Linked DNA regions of Homo sapiens: region 2 is linked to region 1. Evidence: promoter capture Hi-C in 16 types of primary human blood cells and fetal thymus (Javierre and others, 2016). All regions are on one chromosome and are shown on one strand. Each heading gives the region's core, a stretch centred on a gene start or on the middle of the fragment in contact. The rest is flanking DNA. Distances are from core to core; before and after follow the strand shown. Region 1 holds the start of NARS1 (asparaginyl-tRNA synthetase 1). Region 2 overlaps TXNL1 (thioredoxin like 1).

Region 1 (6,839 bases), core at 2,899-5,398:
AGAGTAGAATGGCTGTTCATATCTGGCATGTGCCAGCATATTATGCAGATGTCAACACTAGGCCCATTTTTTCCATCCTGCACTAACTTGACATAGAGAAATCCTATGAGTCTATAGGTGTAGACTGAGGCGGGGGTAGGAATTTAAATGACCCTCTTGTACAACCTGCTTGCACAGTCCTATGTACACTTTTTATTTCACAACAGAATGTTGCTTTGTAAATTCACTTTTTTTTTTTTTTTCTTTGAGACAGAATCTCACTCTGTCACCAAGGCTGGAATGCAGTGGCCTGATCTTGGCTCACTGGAACTTCCACCTCCCAGGTTCAAGCAACTCTCCTGCCTCAGCTTCCTGAGTAGCTAGATTACAGGAGCATGCCACCACACCCAGATAATTTTTGTATTTTTAATAGAGACGGGGTTTTGCCATGTTGCCTAGGCTGGTCTCGAACTCCTGGCCTCAAGTGATCTGCCCGCCTCAGCCTCCCAAAGTGCTGGGATTACAAAGGTGAGCCACCGTGCCTGGCCAGTAAATTCAGTTTTAACGATCAGATGAAACTAAATTCACCAAGGGCAGTTCAGATGAATCTCTCAGTGCCACCTGGCAGGAGCGGTGGCCCTCAAGTGAGGATGCAGCCAGCCTACAATGAGGAGCTACGGGAATAAGGACCCCAACCTCACATCCCACCTCTGTTCTTCCACAAGTGTTCCCCATTGGCTGCAGCTGACCAGGAGTCAGAGAACGAGGGAGCCCATTGATGTGGTTCACATGAGTCAGCCTCTGGGGCGGAGCAGGATGAAGTGGAGAAATTCATCTGGACAGGCTATGGTGGGCAGCCTCTAAGATGGTACCCAGTGAGCAACACCTCCTGGCATTCACCTCCAGGGCTGGTCTGTGTGACCAGTAGAATATGGCAGAGACAATGACATTTCACCTAACAAGTCAGGTTAGAAAAGGCACTGCAGCCTCAGTTTTGGTCACTGCAGTGGGGAGCTTTCTAAGATGGCCCATGATTCCCAGCTGCTGGCATCCATGCCAGTGTGTAATACCCTTCCTTTGAGTGTATGCTGGACCAAGTGACTTGATCCTAATTAATCGAATATGGCAAAAGTATTGGGATATATCCCTTGTGAGATTAGGCAACTAAAGGTTCTAACTTCCATCTTGGTTGCTGGCTTTAGCCAAGCAAGAGGCCCGTGTGGAAAGAATTGAGGGAGACCTCTGGCCAACACCCACCTGAGTGTGTGTGGAAGGGGATCCACTCCAGGTGAGACTTAAGAATCTCAACTTAAGCTGACTGCAGCCTCTGGAAGGACTCAGCTCTGAGTCCTCAGCTAAACCGTGCCCAGATACCTATTCCACAGAAATGTGAGATAACAAATGCCATTTGATGTTTTGGGGTAATTTATTATAAAATAAAAGGTAACTAATATTCTCTCTCTCTGATCACTTGCTTTAGGTGAAGTCAGCGGCTGTCATTAGCAGCTCTATCGGGAGCCCACCTGGCAAGGAAAGGTTTTCTGACCACAGCTTGTGAGTGAGCCTGGAGGCAGATCCCCACCCACCCAAGCCTTCGGATGACTACAGACCCTGCCCTCAGCATGATTCATGAGAGACCTGAGCCAGAACCTCCAGCTAACCCACTACCTTATTCCTGACCATCAGAAACTGTGCAAGGTAGGGCCTGGCATGGTGGCTCAGGCCTGTAATCCCAGCATTTTGGGAGGCCGAGGCAAGCAGATCACTTGAGGTCAGGAGTTCAAGACCAGCCTGGACAACATGGTGAAACCTCATGTCTACTCAAAATACAAAAATTAGCTGGGCGTAGTGGCACACGTCTGTAATCCCAGCTCCTCGGGAGGCTGAGGCAGGAGAATCTCTTGAATCTGGTAGGCGGAGGTTGCAGTGAGCTGAGATCGCGCCACTGCACTCCAGCCTGGGCGACAGAACTGAGACTGTCTCAAAAGAAACTGCTAAGGTAATAAATGTTCGGGGTTTTAAGCTGCTAAGGTTTGGGAAAATTTGCTTTGTAGCAATTGATACTAATCCATGAGCCAACAGAAAACATTCAGCCAAGAGGAAAAGGGAAAGTTCATAAAATTGGGTGAAATATTCCTTAGGAATAGTATTTGGTACTTTTTTTTTTTTTTTTTTTTGAGATGGAGTCTCACTCTGTTACCCAGACTGGAGTGCAGTGGCACGATCTCAGCTCACTGCAACCTCCGCCTCCTGGGTTCAAGTGATTTTCTTGCCTCAGCCTCCTGAGTAACCGGGATTACTGGCGCGTGCCACCACGCCCGGCTAATTTTTGTATTTTGAGTAGACACGGGGTTTCACCATGTTGGCCAGACTGGTCTCCAACTCCTGACCTCAAGTGATCCACCCGCCTCAACCTCCCAAGGTGCTGGGATTGATAACAATCATGAGCCACTGTGCCCGGACTTGGTTCATATTCTTGATGGGCCCTGAACCTATATATAGAGTTATTTTTTTGAGGACCTCTCATAAAAAAAAGGTTTTCTTTTGCTTCAGGGACAAACTCTGGTATTCCACTAAATTGAGAATGGGCTGGGCGTGGTAGCTCACGCCTGTAAGACCAGCACTTTGGGAGGCTGAGGCAGGAGGATCACTTGATCCCAGAAGTTGGAGACCAGCCTGGGCGACACAGGGAGACCCCTCCCCCATCTCCACAAAAATAAAAATAAAATAAGCCAGGCGTGGTGGCGTGCACCTATAGTCCCAGCTACTTGGGAGGCTTAAGTGGGAGGCTCACTTGAGCCCAGGAGTTCGAGGCTGCCGTGAGCTATGATAGCACCACTGCACTCCAGCCTGAGCAACAGAGAAGACCCAGTCTCCAAAAAAAAAAAAAGCCCACCAAAAAAGTAAAAAAAAGTTGAAAATGATGACAGACCCTTTATTAGCACCTCTTACATGCCCGGGCAGTGAATTTATATCATCTTTCACAAATAGAAAAACTGAAGCTCATTCAGATTAGGTAATTTATCTGAAGACACAGATAAACCCCTCTCAGCGCCTGACTCTCGGCGCAATCGGGATGTTTCGCAGCGGGGCAGGGGCAGGGGCCGGAGCCACCGCCATCGCAGCCCGGGGAACAACGGACTCGGGGAAGCCCGGCCTGGCCCTTCAAGTCCCGGGCCCAGCAAGGGCCAGGACCCTCCCTCCCTCCCTGCAATCGGTCCCAACTCGCTGAATGAAGCTCATTCAGTTTAGGTAATTTATCTGAAGACACACGGTTAGTAAAAGGCAGAACCCAGGTTTGTATTCCGAAGCCCTCGTTCTTTCCACCACATTATTATGGCCTTCCTAACGGTAATCCTTACAATTTTAAATGAACATATACCATAGCTCCTCTCCTGAACACCGAGGGACGCTGGCTCACGGAGTTTAGAAAGTTAACGCATCTGGCCGGGCGCGATGGCTCACGCCTGTAATCCCAGCACTTTGGGAGGCCGAGGTGGGCGGATCACAAGGTCAGGAGTTCGAGACCAGCTTGACTAAGATGGTGAAACCCCGTCTTTACTAAAAATACAAAAATTAGCTGGGCATGGTGGCACAGGCCTGTAATCCCAGCTACTCGGGAGGCTGAGGCAGAAGAATCGCTTGAACCCGGGAGGTGGAGGGTGCGGTGAGCCGAGATCGCGCCACTGCACTCCAGCCTGGGTGACAGAGCGAGACTCCGTCTCAAAAAAAAAAAAAAAAAAAAGGAAGTTTACGCAACCCGCTGCGTCCCCTCCACCGCCGCGCACCCCGTCTCGCAGCTGGCGCGGTGTTTGCTGGTGACATGAACTCAACCAGCCTCCACCATCTGGGGATCGGGGCGACATCCTTGGTCTGGTTTGCAAGAGGACCCGCACGCCTCCAGCTGGGGCGGAATTGGAAGATTCAGAAAGGAAAGTTGGGGAGGCGGGGAAGGAAGGGTGCAAAAGTGACACTGTGCCAGGGTCTCCAGGGCCGCGGAGCTCCGGGACAGGCAGCGCCTTCCGAGCTGCACAAACGCGTGGGGCGGGGCGTCTCTGGATCCGGAAGTTGCCTCTGCCCTCACCAAAGATGGCGGCCCCGGCGCCGCTCGCCCACCTCTCGTAACCAATGGAACCGCGGCGCTCGGCCGATTCTCGCAGGCGCCCTCAGATCTACGCTCTCTGATGCAACGCCGGAATCGCGGAAACCGCCGGTGCACGTTGGAGTCATAAGACGGCGTCGGTGTTGCAGTCTGTGTCCTTGGAGGTGACCAGGGCCACTGCAGGCATGGTGCTAGGTGGGTGAGACTCAGTGTATGGCGCGGTGTTCCCTGCCTGGGGCAGGAACTCTGCTCCAGTCGGGTTTCGGCGCTTTCCTTAGTGCCTACCAGAGTGGGCGCCCCGCGAATGTTTGGGGACCGATTGCAGGGAGGGAGGGAGGGAGGGTGCTGGCCTTTGCTGGGCCCGGGACTTGAAGGGCCAGGCCGGGCTTCCCCGAGTCCGTCGTTCCCCCGGGCTGCGATGGCGGTGGCTCCGGGCCCTTCCCCTGCCCCGCTGCGAAACCTCCCGATTGCGCTGAGACTCAGGCGCTGGGACGGGTTCAGACACAGGGTAGCCCCTACTCCTGCAGTTCTTCAAAGTGATCGTCAGGAAGGGGCTTTAGGATTCTAGTTGTTTTTCTCCCACCCTCATTTTTTTATTGAGGTTTCCGGGGAGACCATACTGTGCAGTAGGAAAAAAAAAAAAAAAAAGAGAGAGACCTGGATGGATGTTAACTGTTCAGACCTACTAGTTGTGAGGCCTTCTGAAATTTTCTAACCTCAGAGCTTCTGTTTCCTTTAAAGTCCAGAGGGAGCTGGTGTTTATTTGCCATCTCTACAAAAACTGGCACTGGGATATCTGATTTGTATGTGTTATTTTATTTCATCCTCAGCACAGCCTTTCAAGATGGGGATTGTTTTTCCTATTTTATAGGTAAAGAAATAAGCTCAGAAAGGTTAAGTAAATTCTCCAGAGTCACCCTGCCTTTTAAGGTACAAAATCCAACATTCCAGCGTATGTCTGATCAACTTCAAAGCCCATATTTTATTTTTGGGTGCCCAATTAGATAGAATAAATATCACAAATTAAAATGATCAGAGTTCATTTTGAAAACCTGGATTATTAACTAATGTTTTTATGAGATGGATGTTATTGAAATGGAGTGGGGAAATAACTAGGATATTAATTACTTATGGACCTCAATTTTTATTAATCGATGCTTGTTCTGTTTACAAAGATAAGGAATGAATAAAGTAGTAAGGTGACTAATAGTTAATGGCCAGACCATAACTTACCCTCATTTTGTCAAACAGCAGAGCTGTACGTCTCTGACCGAGAGGGAAGCGATGCCACGGGAGATGGAACCAAGGAGAAACCATTTAAAACAGGTCTAAAGGTAGAGTCTCTTCTCATTAGGAAAATGAGACTGCATTTATTAATGAGTTATGTCAATTTTCTTGTGACTTGCCAAGAACTTAATTTCAAACACTAGGTTCCAAAGAGAATTTTCAGAAAAGGGAAAGTAAGGAATGCATACAGATATGTGACTTTAAGATTGTTAGATGATCAAAGTCTAAACTTACTTTTTAACATTTTGAAAAAAGGTCTCTTCTTTCTTACCACATGGCATTGCTTCTTGGAATTTTTCTCTCCATTGAGTCAGATTGCTGGGTTTTCAATTCTTGTAAAGATAAAAGTTACCTTTCCTCAGTTACAGTGAGCTCATGACCAGGGGGCTCCTGAGAGGGCTTTTGGTGAATTTACCACAATCCAGAGTGTGATCCTGAGATTTGACTCCAAGACCACCAAGAATGGATTCATTTGTCAGAGCTGACTCATGAGTCTGGAGCTTCAAGCTAGAATGCCAATTTATTAACATTCTGTTAATGAATTAACAGTGCTGTTATTTCTCAGGATCTAGAATCCTTGAATGAGTTTAGCTCATTCTCAAAGGGGTTTGTCAAGAGCTTGGACTCAGGCCTGGTGTGGTGGCTCACGCCTATAATCTCAACACTTTGGGAGGCCGGGGCAGGTGGATTGCTTCAGCGCAGGAGTTTGAGACCAGCTTGGGCAACTTGGTGAAATCCTGGCTCTACAAAAAACATAAAAATTAGCCCAGCATGGTGGTGCGTGCCTGTGGTCCCAGCTACTCCGGAGACTGAGGTGAGGATTTCTTTAGCCTGGAAGGTGGAGGTTGCAGTGAGCCACCATTGCGCCACTGCACTCTAGCCTGAGACCCTGTCTCAGAAGAAAAAACAAAAAAAGGGCTTGGACTCACAACATGGGTGTTAGGTAGTTGATTATATCAGAGTAAAGTGTGGCCTAAGACAACCTTCTTAAAATAGACCATGGACTTAGCTGTTGAACTCATATGCTAGAATCCATTGGCTATAACTGCCACATAAGGAAGATGGTTAAAAGTTCCTTCCTTGGGTCTGGGCTTTGGTGCCTCACGTTTGTAATCCCAGCACTTTGGGAGGCTGAGGCTGGAGGACTGCTTGAGCCCAGGAGTTTGAGAACAGCCTGGGCAACATGATAAGACCCTCATCTCTACAAAAAATTTAACTTCTTAAAAATTTTTTAATAAATTTAATTTAAAAAATAAATAGAGACAGGATATTAACCCTCCCAAAGTGCTGGGTTTATAGGAGTGAGCCATCACACTCAGCCAACTACCAAAAAAAAAAAAAAAAAAAAATTAGCCAGGCATGGTGGTATGGTATGCACCTGTGGCCCCAGCTACTCGGGAGACTGAGATAGGGGGATTACTTGAGCCCAGGAGGTTGAGGCTGCAGTGAGCCGTGATTGCATCACTGCTCT
Region 2 (6,913 bases), core at 3,766-6,265, 1.0 Mb after region 1:
AATATTTATGTTATTAATTTAAGGAAATTGATTAAACTTAAAGCATGTTTGTGAAGAAGGATTGTAATTATAAATGCAAACTTTTTTTTGGTAGATATTTGTTCAGTCGAATCAAGGTGAAGAGGAAACAACAAGAATTTCATATTTTACTTTTATTGGTACTCCAGTCCAGGCAACAAATATGAATGACTTCAAACGAGTAAGTTTGCTTAAATGATACTTCGGGATAGTAAAAATATAATTTTAATGGAATAATTTCATGTATCTCAACTGTCACACTTTCTTTTAACAAAATAATTCAAAATTATATCATGTCATGAAATTTTACAAGGCTAAACTAGGATAGAAAGTTCCCCTAACTATATTTTTAGATATCCAACAAAGTAATCTTTAATAAAAAATGATGTCTTAACTGATAAAAGAGTCTTTTAATGAATGACATCAACATAAGGGTAAAAATAATGGCTTGGTTATAGAAAGTGGTTAGTAATAATGGAAAAATGAAAGTAAAATCATTTGAAAGCAGTTGTGAGAATTAAATAACTTAGTTGATAGTAAGATTCTGGTGATTATTTCTGATGAAATTTTAAATTACTTGAATAATTTTATTTAAAAAAAATGGACTGAGTTTTAATATACTGACATGTTAACTTTCCAAACCATGTTTGTATGCTGAAATAGCACATTTCATCAAATAATGATGAACAGGCAAGTTTTCTGAAGTATTTTTGTATATCTTTATGTGTGTGCATATAATTTTCTTTTGAAAAGACACAATTATAAGGTTAGTAAAGAATTAATAGGGTACATGGGACCTTTGTTAATCCAGATTAATTCCTTCTGTACATTACTGGAACGACTTCTAATGGGCAACAGTTCCCTAGCGTCACTCTTAAATATACAGCCAGAGATTATCAAAGTGCTACTGAGAGCTTTATCAGTACAGAGCGTTAGTTGCTATATACTCAGTTTAAATGTGGCAGCACAGAATACATAGGTATCCCACTGTCTCTAATGATTGCATCTGGCAGGCAGTCTAGAACTTGAGGAAGAGTTTCCTTAGGCCTGGCAATTCCTAGATGAAGAGGCTCCCAAGAGACCCTTGTTGTGGAATTGAAGATGGAGAACATCTTGAGCACTCTCATTCTTTTTGGTGCATCTACAGATCTTACTTTAATTCAATTATAGAAAAATGTATTAGATTGCATAACAGAGGATGATCTTACAAAATTGTATGCTGTTTTTACCAAATTGCAAACCTGGACAATAGGTATTTTAACTGGTTGTTTTCCAATTACTATTTTCCTGTCTCATAGCGTGATTACCTTTTGGGGACTGCAGGAATAATTATGCACTTTAGAGCTGTTATGTCTAGATGTTTCACATATGTATTATGACAGGTCAGAAGAAGCAGAGATTAAGCATCTACATTTTTACGATATGAAATATGTTTTATTGGGAAAATGTGTGAGCAACAAAGACGTCTTGGCTGCCTGCTTTACCTTTTTGAATTAGATGCCATTGGACTTGGCTTTAAGTGTGCCTTGTGTGGTTTATTCTTAACTTAGTTTTTTATAAGATCTATTACTATTATCTTATTATTTTCTCATATCATTCATTAATTTGGCTCTAGTTTCCTGTTTCTTACCTCAGTTTATGCTATTTGATTTTCATTTTTTTCTGTAACCACCATTCTATCTTGTTTACCTTCTTACCAGCTAGCCATTCAGTTAAAGTTTCTCTAATTTGCATGAATAATTATCCATCTAACTATCTGCCTCCACCTCGTGTTTAACATCCCCCTCACATCCCTTCTAGCCTAGTATTTTCTCTTTTCTGACTGTCAAACTACGTTTTTGGGGGCTGTCTTTAGGATAGCAAAGGTGTAAGACCTTTTTTGTTTGAGAGTATTTGTGCTTGTTTTATAACAGCCATTTATTCATTTGATTTTTTTTAACTTTAAATTACCATATGATAGCAGTTCTCAAGCTTTTTGATCTCAGGACCTCTTTATATTATTAAATACTATTGAAGGCCAAAAAGAACTTTTGTTTATGTGGGCTATATTTATCTGATATTTGCCATTTATAAGTTAAAAGTGGGAAATATAAAAAATATTTGTAAATAATGAACACATGTTAATGAATATTTTTAAATTAGAAATAAGCATATTTTCTAAAAGAAAAACCAATTTGGTAAGAAGAGCATTGATTCAGAATTTTATGATTTTTTTTTTTTTTTTTTTGAGACAGGGTTTTGTTCTGTCACCCATGCTGCAGTGCAGAGGCACAGTTATGGCTTACTGCAACCTCAAACTCCTGGGCTCAAGTGATCCTCCAGCCTCAGCCTCACGAGTAGCTGAGACTACAGGCGTGTGCCACCACACTCGGCTAATGTTTTATTTTTGTGTGGGGACAGGGTCTTACTATGTTGCCCAGGCTTCTCTGTTTACGAGCCTTATAGTGTCCTTTCCTTCTCATATCTGCTTCTGCATTCAGTCAGCTTTCCTGTCACACATCATATAGCCCCTGGAAAACTCCCCTGGATACTTGTGAAGAGAATAAGAGTCTAAAAGGCAAAAAACGATTTAGCATTATGAAAATAGTGTTGACCTCCCAGACTCCTTGAGAGGGTCTTGGAGACCACACTTTGAGAACTGCTACAAGAATAATTTGAATACCATAATCTACTCCCTTGTTGGTGTTCTGGGCTTCTTAGCCCCTTGCTTTTAATGTTTAATAAATTTTAGTTGATTAAGTGATTTTCTTAGGTATATTAATATTGCATTTTCTTGTAATATTTCTGAATGACATTTGTACTGTAGTTATTCTTTGTCTTTTAGGGTTATTCTTTAAAAGTAAGCTAGTATTTCATTGTTTTTATATTGTACAAAGTAACAACTTCAATGTAGTTAAAAAAAGAAAAAGAGGGTTTACATGTAACTGAAATTGGCCAGCTTAGTCCTTGTACAGATAGATTTGCTTATTAAAAATTATAATTGAGTTTGGTTTTCATTGAAGGAAATAATATGTGGTATGGTATCTTTTGTCCCTGTAGTACGATGCTAGTACAATAGTCTCTCCTTATCTGTCGGGGCGGGGGGATACATTCTTAGACCCCCGGTGGATGCCTGGAACCACAGACACTAACAAACCCTGTACATACTGTGTATTTTCCTATACAGATGGTTCCCAACTTATGATGGTTCAAGTTTACAATAGTGCAAAATTGATAATGCACTCAGTAGAAACCATTCTCTTAAGTGTGGGGCAGTTAAGCATTTTTGACTTACAATATTTTCACCTTACAATGGGTTTACTTATTTTTATTTTTTTGAGATGGAGTTTCACTCTTGTCACCCAGGCTGTAGTGCAATGGTGCGATCTCAGCTCACTGCAACCTCTGCCTCCCGGGTTCAAGTGATTCTCCTGCCTCAGCCTTCCAAGTAGCTAGGATTACAGGCGCCTGCCACCATACCCGGCTAATTTTTGTATTTTTAGTAGAGATGGGGTTTCACCATGTTGGCCAGGCTGGTCTCAAACTCCTGACCTCACTGCCTTCCTTGGTCTTCCAAAGTACTGGGATTAGAGGCATGAGCCACCGTGCCTGGTCTTTACAATGGGTTTAATCGGGATATATTACCCCATCGGAAGTCGAGGAGCATCTGTACATATATACATACCGCTGATAATGTTTAATGTATAAATTAGGCACAGTAAGAGATTTAACAACAAAGCCAGAGCATGGTGGCTCATGCCTATAATCCCATCACTTCCGGAGGCCAAGGCTAGAAGATCACTTAAACCCAGGAGTTCAGGACCAGCTGGCAAACATAGTAAGACTCCATCTCTATTTAAAAAAAAAAAAAAATTACCCATGCAAGACGGTGGGTGCACCTGTAGTCCCAGCTACTTGGGAGGCTGAGGTGGGAAGATCACTTGAGCCCAGGAGTTCAAGACCAGCCTGATAAACATAGTAAGATTCCATCTCTATAAGAATACACACACACACACACACACACACACACACAAAATTACCCAGGCAAGGTGGTGGGCACACCTGTAGTTCTAGCTACCTGGGAGGCTGAGGTGGGAAGATCGCTTGAACCCTGGAGTTCAAGGCTGCAGCGAGCTAGGATCACGCCACTACACTCCAGCCTGGGTGACAGAGCAAGACCCCATATCAAAAAGAAAGAAAAATAAAAAAGATTAACACCAACTAATAATAAAATAGAGCAATTACAACAATATACTGTGGTTAAAAGTTGACATGGATATGGTCTCTCCCATGCTTGCTCTTTCTCTCACTGTCTCAAAATATCTTATTGTACTGCACCATAGGCAGTTGAAACTGCAGAAAGTGAAAGCATGGATAAGGAGGGACTACTCTTCAGTCATGATCTCTGTCTACAGCAGTTTATATTCTTGTAGATAACATAGGGACAAACATAGGGAAAGTTAATCAAAATTAATCAAAGCTTAGTTCAAGGGTTTCTTTGTCCACAGAGTATTCTCAGACGTTACCAGCTAGGTGACTTTTCCTTTTCCCCCAACGACTGGGAAAGTCTGAGAATACTTTGTGAAGAAAGAGGGCCTTGAACTAAGTTTTGAGAGTAGAATTTGGACAGTTCAACAGGCAGCTATGGGCACCCTTGATAGAATGGAAAAGTAGGGACCTGGACATGAACTTAGGAAGGTGGAGGATTCAATCGTTCAAGGACAAGTCACATGTGGCATGTCTTTTCTTTTACTTGTTTGCTCAGTCTGAATTAGTATATACATAGTAATTAGAATTGAAATTTTTTTCTTTTTTTTTGAGACGGAGTCTTGCTCTGTTGTCCAGGCTGGAGTGCAGTGGTGTGATCTCGGCTCACTGCAAGCTCTGCCTCCCGAGTTTACCACATTCTCCTGCCTCAGCCTCTGTAGCAGCTGGGACTACAGGTGCCCGCCGCTACGCCTGGCTAATTTTTTTGTATATTTAGTAGAGACGGGGTTTCACCGTGTTAGCCAGGATGGTCTCGATCTCCTGACCTCGTTGATCCGCCCGCCTGGGCCTCCCAAAGTGCTGGGATTACAGGCGTGAGCCACCATGCCTGGCCTAGAATTGAAAATTTTGAAATAGATTTGGCATATATTTTATAGGCACAGGGAGGAAAATTTTGATGACCTCTGTGTAGTGAAGGGCGCTATATAAAATGGCTTAATGAATAATAAAGTAGATCAAATGTTTAGCATTTTCAGTTTATATTTTTATCTTGTGTGAGCTGTTTCTGGATAATTTCCGTTTTTAGTATGTCACTGACTTCTTATGTCACTAAGATATCTGACAGAAGCTAAGGTAATGCTGTTGAATCTCCAATGTGGACAGAAATCTTAGACAACCTTTCATGCTATTACAACTTTGAAGGTTAGACTTTTAAGGTTTGACAGACTAGAATACCCCTTCCACTTGTCTGGTTTTGGCTCTTATAGGCATCACGCACAGATTATAATCTATACTTTGGCTGTTTGTTGTTGTCAATGGATTTTTTGTGTTGCAGCATGAAAAGCTTGCCATTGCCATCTTAATTGGAAGTAGATGTTTTTGCTAAAATATGCTCTTTATATGGATTGCTTTATTTTAATACAGAATTTTTAATTACAATTTTATAAAAATACAAAAATGAGAAAATTATAGGGGCTTCTGCTTCTTAGGAAATGAGGTGCATGTGAAAAGATTTTTATCACTATAATAAAAATAGACTTTTCTAAACTGGCCATTCACCGTATCAGCTATTTTTGTAACATTTCTGTCTGTTTATTTTTCAGCTTTTTTAATCCAACTCAAATGAACTAAAAACAGAAGATATTTTAAAATGAAGTAATATAAAGATTGACCTTGTCTCACTCTACTCCCCTCCTTGCTTCTCTGCTCATCTAGCACCTGTCTGCTCTCACCCTTCCCATGTTCTCGCCATTGTTGGTGCAAGATTTCTACAGCTTCTATCATCTGGATCAGCCTTGTTACCTAGGTTTCCTCAATCATCTCTTTCTTCAGATCTCATCCTAGTTGTGTTTCTTAATTGGCCTTTTATTTTGTTTTGGCTTTTGTTTTGGGCTTGCAACTAGGTGCTTTAATTTTTTACCATACCGTGTTGCTCACTAGCCTTTTTTTTTTTTTACTTTCTACTGTTTCATATTTAATTTTGTATTACATTTTGAGGCATAACATCACAATAAAATTAAATTGTTATAAAATGTTTTAGATTTAACTAGTTGAATAGTTTTAATCCATTCTAAACTTTAAATTTTATTTCCTAGGAACTATAGAATTCTTTTGGAAAACAAATATAGCAGTTGCATCAAGTTCTTTTATGTTTGTGCTAGTTTAATATATTGATTACATTTCAGTTGAGGGGTGTTGGTTTTCTTTTCCTCGTTGGAATGTTAGCCCCAAAGTCCTTTTGATGATTGATTGGGGCATGTCCTCTGCTTTTGCCCAAGTGAGCTCAAAACCAGTTGAAGGACTTATGGACTGAATATTAGGTTGGGTTAACATATTAATATAGAAGATCAATGGACTCTTTACTGAATAAATATTTTTTACACCTAATTTTTATGTACCTAAATTTTGGTTTGTCTGAGGTGTAATATAAAGACTTAAGAATGAATAAAAGAGCTTTACGTTTGGGATGACAATCCATGTTGGAATGTTGAATTTCTTCTTTTTTACAGAAAATACACATTGGCAAGTTGAGAGTTATCAACCTGTGAAACAGTATGCAGATTTGTGTCTTCTGTATCACATCTGCTAGAAGTTTAATTTTTAATATTTGTTTTTGTTTTCTTTTGCTTAATCTAATAGCTTTGTGTTTTGTGTTTCCCAAGTAATACAATGATCAATAATGCTCTCAGTGTTTATCAGCACAAAATTT

What was found. Contacts are between HindIII fragments. The CHiCAGO score rates a contact against its expected background, and 5 or more counts as called.
Region 2: a contact is called between a fragment that was not itself captured here and the fragment with the promoter of NARS1 in region 1, in 2 of 17 cell types (naive CD4 T cells and total CD8 T cells). The highest score is 5.9, in naive CD4 T cells.

What each region holds. Positions count from the first base shown.
Region 1 is chr18:57,619,145-57,625,983 of GRCh38, reverse strand. It overlaps NARS1 (asparaginyl-tRNA synthetase 1), which reads left to right and starts at 4,148. Exons shown (of 14, transcript NM_004539.4): 1 at 4,148-4,276; 2 at 5,333-5,415. The coding sequence starts at 4,267. RefSeq lists enhancers at 3,875-4,214, 3,595-4,299. The HindIII fragment of the contact is 17,897 bases long and covers 1-6,839 here.
Region 2 is chr18:56,604,279-56,611,191 of GRCh38, reverse strand. It overlaps TXNL1 (thioredoxin like 1), which reads left to right. Exons shown (of 8, transcript NM_004786.3): 7 at 95-199. Among named protein-coding and RNA genes, the nearest start is that of TXNL1, 31 kb to the left of the region's middle. The HindIII fragment of the contact is 1,071 bases long and covers 4,480-5,550 here.